Linked DNA regions of Homo sapiens: region 1 is linked to region 2. The links are contacts of gene promoters, found by promoter capture Hi-C in blood cells and fetal thymus (Javierre and others, 2016). All regions are on one chromosome and are shown on one strand. Each heading gives the region's core, a stretch centred on a gene start or on the middle of the fragment in contact. The rest is flanking DNA. Distances are from core to core; before and after follow the strand shown. Region 1 has its middle 53 kb from the start of ASIP. Region 2 holds the start of TP53INP2 (tumor protein p53 inducible nuclear protein 2).

Region 1 (2,864 bases), core at 255-2,754, 520 kb before region 2:
TAGAGACGGGGTTTCACCGTGTTACCCAGGATGGTCTCGATCTCCTGACCTCATGATCCGAAGCAGTAGGATTTAACTTCCTGATTATGTTTAACTTGGGTTGAAAACTGAAATAATTAGTAGTCTTTGGGAATGCCCTGATTGATCAATGAGGCACAAAGGAGAACCAATCAATCAGTCACTTAGAACTTGCCATCAGTGATCCACAAAGGGGTGTGAGAGTCATAAATAAATAATTCTGGTGGTAGTCCTAAATTGGTTCTTTTTTTTGTATTTGGTCATAGCACTAAACTAGGCTGGGAAGAAAGATTCTCGGGGCAGAATTCTGAAATCTTTGCCTTAGCTGTGTAACTGTTCAGAGAGGAATTTCTTTTCAACTTGTCTTTTCCTTTGGCCTCTAAAGTTCTTCTCAGAGAAAAAATCAATCCCCTGCTCCAGGCTAGGGCCAAGTGTGTAAGGTTTGTCAGTTTAATCTCTGTCCACAAGCCTAATCACTTTAAGCTGGCCTGTCCTGGGGCTGAGAATCTACTGACGGTGTTTTCGTCTTTCTCTTAGGAGGATCGTGAATTTCCTAAACTGTCTTTGAGAGACTCAGATATTTTATTTTATAAATGGCAGTGACAGATGTTATGTATCCATTGCTAATGTTATCTGTACAAAATCAAGAAGATATATTACAGTGGATACAAACCTAGAGTGCCTTTTGGATATGGCAGGTGAGGAGTGTTCCTTGATGGTTTGTTTTCAGTTCAGTGCAAGACACTCCTGAAGCACATCACTTACTATAAATGACCTTTAAGAGGAAAAGATACTTTGGAGTTACTCTATCACTTGAAAATGGGGCAGGACCATTACAAGAGTAAATATAGTTATTTATGAAAAGCCAGATCTCCAAGTCCAAAAGGAGAGAAATAACTATTATTCATATAGTTCAGTCCTTAGAACCAATTCTCCTCTGCTGTGTATGGCATTTCCACATCTTGTTTAGACTTCAGGCTGAGCCTGTAATTGTTTGGCTGTGGGAAATGAGGGAGTGTATTTCAGAAAACCCATCTTCCCCTCGCACTTCCAGGGTCCTATTCAGATCGACTTGTTCTGCTACCATTTTACCCATACCCAGCATCCCGATATTTATTGAGCATATTTATGTGTGCCATTCTATCCTAGTTCCCAAAGGGGATACAAAAACGAAATTATACGCAAGATGGTAGAGCATTTACACAAAATCGTAAAGGAGGTGAAGTTGGCCAGTTTAGTTTTTTCAGTTTACTTGGGGAACTCATTAGCCTGCTTTCAGCCCTTTTGTCTCCGAAAGCTTAGAACATGTACTGCTGGTGGTATGTGAGATGGTTTAAGTTAAACAGAAGATGACTTTAGGCGGTAGATGGACAAGCATAAGATTATCACATCATGGAAAAGTAATTTCCTTTTTAATTTGCTTTCAAGCCTGGATTCATCTAGAAGAAAGTCTCAGTGGGGGTTGATGTGTCATTAACATATTCCAAAACTTATTCCCTTTTAACATATTCCTTTTTAATCAAGAAAATAGACCTCAGAACTGGAGTGCTCTCCTGGTAACAGTAGTTATTTAGAATTTATTGACATTGTATTATTAATTTTTTCTAGGATTATATTCTGTTTATGAAAAATGACAGTAACATGCTATAAATTTTCCAATTTACACGAATGTATTTAAGCTTTGAAAAAGTTATTAGTTGATTTAAAGAAAAATATTGAGTAAATAATAATATAGCTGGGTTGGAGATATGGTTGAAATCCTGACATTGCTATTCAAATGACTGAAGTTTGGGAGACACTTCTTTCCCCCACCCGGAGCCCAAACAAAATTACTATTTGTGACCCATTCCTGCCCTCTGCTTTACCTAAACCAATTCAGGATCATGATAATGACCAATAATATAATAAGAACCATACTTCTCCCTATAAGCATTATGATAGGGCTCTGAGATCTTTAACCTAAAGAGTCATTTTAATGGTAGAAATTTCTAAAAAGACAGGATAATATATTTGTAGTAGATGAAACTGTCACAATAATGACACTATCGAGTGCTGTCATTTAGACTTTTTGAGTATTCTCTAATTCTCACAACGACCGTGAGGCATTTTTCAGATGAGAAAACTGAGGTTCAGGGAGGTTAAACAAAACCTCAAGCAATAAGGAGCAGAGCCACGGTCTGGTGCCTAGAACTTCTGGCCATGTGGGTAGCTTAACTGCTCCCCCTAAGGTTTGTTTTCTTTTTTTTGAGATGGAGTTTTGCTCTTGTTGCCCAGGCTGGAGTGCAGTGGCGTGATCTCGGCTCACCGCAACCTCTACCTCCCGGGTTCAAGTGATTCTCCTGCCTCAGCCTCCTGAGTAGCTGGGATTATAGGCATGCACCACCACGCCCGGCTAATTTTGTATTTTTAGTAGAGACGGGGTTTCTCCATGTTGGTCAGGCTGGTCTCAAACTCCCAACCTCATGTGATCCGCCCACCTCGGCCACCCAAAGTGCTGGGATTACAGGCATGAGCCACCACACCTGGCCCTGCTCCCCCTAAGTATTAGGCAAACCCTGGAGAAGCCACACGGATGAACAGCCTGAGGAACTCAAGGGAGCATGTGAATAGGTGCACAATAACACATTATAACACAGGGAAACTCTGAAATACTATGGGAGGAAGTACGTTCAGAGTAGGTGAGACCAACTGAAGGAAGTGGGGACTCTACCAAAGGAGTCACCTCATTGCATTTATCTCTGCCTTGCATTCTACCCCTCTGCCTTACAGACCTCCTTGTAGGGCCAGGTCAGGCTTCATGTCTCCCACCAACCCCAGTCACTCAGAAAGGAGCAAGTACTCTGGTT
Region 2 (2,700 bases), core at 33-2,532:
AGAATCTTACAATGGCAGCTCTAGAGGGAAGCCTGGATATGTTTGTTTGACAAACTGAGACCCAGAGAGGTAACATGACTTGAGGTCACACAGCAAGTCTAGGGCACAGTCAGGACTGAAAGCCAGGACTCTGGGGAGGCTAAAGCGCCCTGAGGTTTAGACCATCTGGTTCATGTAGAGAATGGAGAGGGTCAGGGCTGGGAGCTATGGGTTCAAATCCTGGCTCTGCCATTGACTGTACTTTTGTGACCTAAGAAAGTCACTTGAGCTCTCTGAGTCTGTTTCCTCAACTGTTAAACGGGACAATATCTACCTTTTGGGTTGTTGTGAAGATAAAAAAACACACCCATAGCACAGGTCGTGGCACACAGTAAGTGTGCCAATACATGTCAGCTAGTGGTATGGTGGTGCAATAGTAGGTGCCTAATAAATGTTGAATGCATTGTTGAACATGAGTTCACACGCTAACAGTGAGATTGTGAGACTCAGCTTTCCCACGTGTAAATCAGGACTCATAATCAGTCCCTGTCCTGCCACTTCTTTACAGCCCCGGTAGCAACATAGATTAAATAAGGTATGTAAACGTTCAAGCGCGGAGCCGTCTCAGGTCAATGTTTACTCAGCCCAGGGCAATTCCTCTCCAAGTCCTACTCTGCGAAATTTCACGTCAGCTTCACTAACTTCTCTACATTCCCAGATGCTCCCCGGGAACCGGGGGTTGGGGATGTCCCTCTTTTCTCAAGCCCGCCGAGCTGAGGAAAAACGGGGTGGGAAAGCAGAGTGTGTAAGGCTGAGGAGGTGAGCCAGAGGGGGGAGGGAGAGCAGGAATAAGGGCAGTGGGGAGAATGCAGGTGCACGGACGTGGTGTGGGTCGAGAACAGGGTCCGCATCGGGGGACTTGGATATAGGATGCAGTGAAAGGATTTGGGGAGCAGTGGGAGAGGTGAGGGCGCTGCGATCCGGGAAGAATCAGGAAAATAAGGAGCCGGTAGGAGGGAGTGGAGATCCTCCTCGCGGAGAGCTCGCCGCGGCGCAGGGCTCCCAGCTCCCCGCAGCTGCCTCCCCGAACACTCACCCTCCCGGTTCCGAGAACGTTTCCCGGCCCGAGCGCCCGGCCCGCAAACCGGGAGGGGAGGGGAGGGGAGGGGCAGGGGGGGATCCGCAGCCCGGGATTGGCCGCCGCCCCGCCAGCCGGTGACGCGAGGCGGGCGGGCCCCTTTGTGACGTCACAATCAGCTGTTTGAACGTTCCAATTTGTGCCGTGAGCCCCGCCGCAGCGGCCGCACAGACTCAAAGCCCCGCGGGCGAGCTCAGCAGCCCGGAGCGACCGCGGCCCCGCCGCCTCCCCCGCGAGTCCCGGCGATGCGGCCCGGCCTGTGAGCGGCCGGCGACCCTGGGACGCCCCGCCGCACAACTACCTCAACGCCGTGCCGCCCCCCTCCCGCCCCCAGGTGAGTCCCGACCCGGGTGGGCCTGGGGGCTCCCCTGCCACGGACACGCCCTGCGCCCCCCGCGCCCGGGCCTTTGTCTGTCTCCGCCGGCGGCCGCCGGGGCCGCGTTCCCGGCTCCCGATTGGTTGCCGCACGCCCGGTAGACCATGACGTCGTTCTATTTGCATATGACATTGAGACGTCACCAAGGCCGGTACCGCCCCCACAGGCTCGGGTCGCTTGTCCTCCCGTGACCCGGTAGCCGCTGTGTCGGGGCTGGGCCCTGGGTGAGACGCTGCAATCCAAAGGGGGCTGCAGGGGGATCGGCGATTTCCTAGGCTTATCCAGGGGCTGGGGTCAGGCCTCTGATCCCCTACTTTCTCTTTGCAACCTGAGAAGGAGTCAGACGGCGCTGCTGGGCCTAGGTTGAGGGGGTCGTCAGGAGTTCAGGGCTGCATGGGACTCCAGGTGGTTGGGACAGCACCAGATGGTGGTGGGATCCCCTCCCTCCGGCTCCAGACTCCGCCCCCAGGGACTAACAGAATAACATCCTCCTAATCCCTGATTTGTGTGCAGCGCCTTAGCTGATGTCACTCCTAGACCCAAAATGAAGGGTCTTAGACCCCAGTGCATGGAAGGGGCAACAGGCCCAGAGAGGAGGATTAGCTCTCTCGAGGTCACATAACCAATTAGAGTCATGCTCACTGAGTGACAGATGGATTATTAGCCAGGGGCAAAGACATAATAGGGGCTCAGTACAAGTGGTAAGATACACATCCTCCTTCCACTGGGGACCCGATCTTGGGCTCAGCCTTATCACGGTTTGATAGGCTCCTAGGTGTCCTTACTCCTGGACCCTTTTCCAGGGAATCTCTGGAGATTGGTTCACCTTTTGTGGTCCTGACCCCTTCTGTCCTCACTGTACCTTGAAGTCCTAGAGTCCAATAAAATCGCTGCCTCCCAGCTGTTTGGATCACAGAGAGGTGAGTCATTGGCTGCCTCGGGGTGTCTCCAGGGCTGATGTTGGGGTGGAGGGTGGGGTGAGGGTTCCCTCTATTGGCCCTTTACCTTCCCAACTTCCTAGGTCGTCAGCTAGGAAGGGCCTGACCTGGCCTAGTGCAGACAATTGCAGGTGTTTTGCTGCTCCCTCGTCACCTCTGCCCACAGAGAGTATAGGAGAAGGGATAGGATAAGGAGAGTTTCTGACTTAACAAGTGGATGGGCCTAGAGGCTGAACCAGGAACTCCATTCCTGCTGGGAGTTTGCTCAA

Evidence for each region. The method cuts DNA at HindIII sites, captures the fragments that hold promoters and counts their contacts. A CHiCAGO score of 5 or more calls a contact.
Region 1: a contact is called between a fragment that was not itself captured here and the fragment with the promoter of TP53INP2 in region 2, in 1 of 17 cell types (endothelial precursors). The highest score is 5.4, in endothelial precursors.

The regions. Positions count from the first base shown.
Region 1 is chr20:34,186,996-34,189,859 of GRCh38, forward strand. It overlaps a transcript of ASIP not described here. Among named protein-coding and RNA genes, the nearest start is that of ASIP, 53 kb to the right of the region's middle. The HindIII fragment of the contact is 382 bases long and covers 1,314-1,695 here.
Region 2 is chr20:34,703,062-34,705,761 of GRCh38, forward strand. It overlaps TP53INP2 (tumor protein p53 inducible nuclear protein 2), which reads left to right and starts at 1,283. Exons shown (of 5, transcript NM_021202.3): 1 at 1,283-1,451; 2 at 2,297-2,413. LOC105372599 (a long non-coding RNA gene) reads right to left here and starts at 1,121. Exons shown (of 2, transcript XR_936690.3): 1 at 1,076-1,121; 2 at 598-752. RefSeq lists a silencer at 1,079-1,558. The HindIII fragment of the contact is 9,202 bases long and covers 1-2,700 here.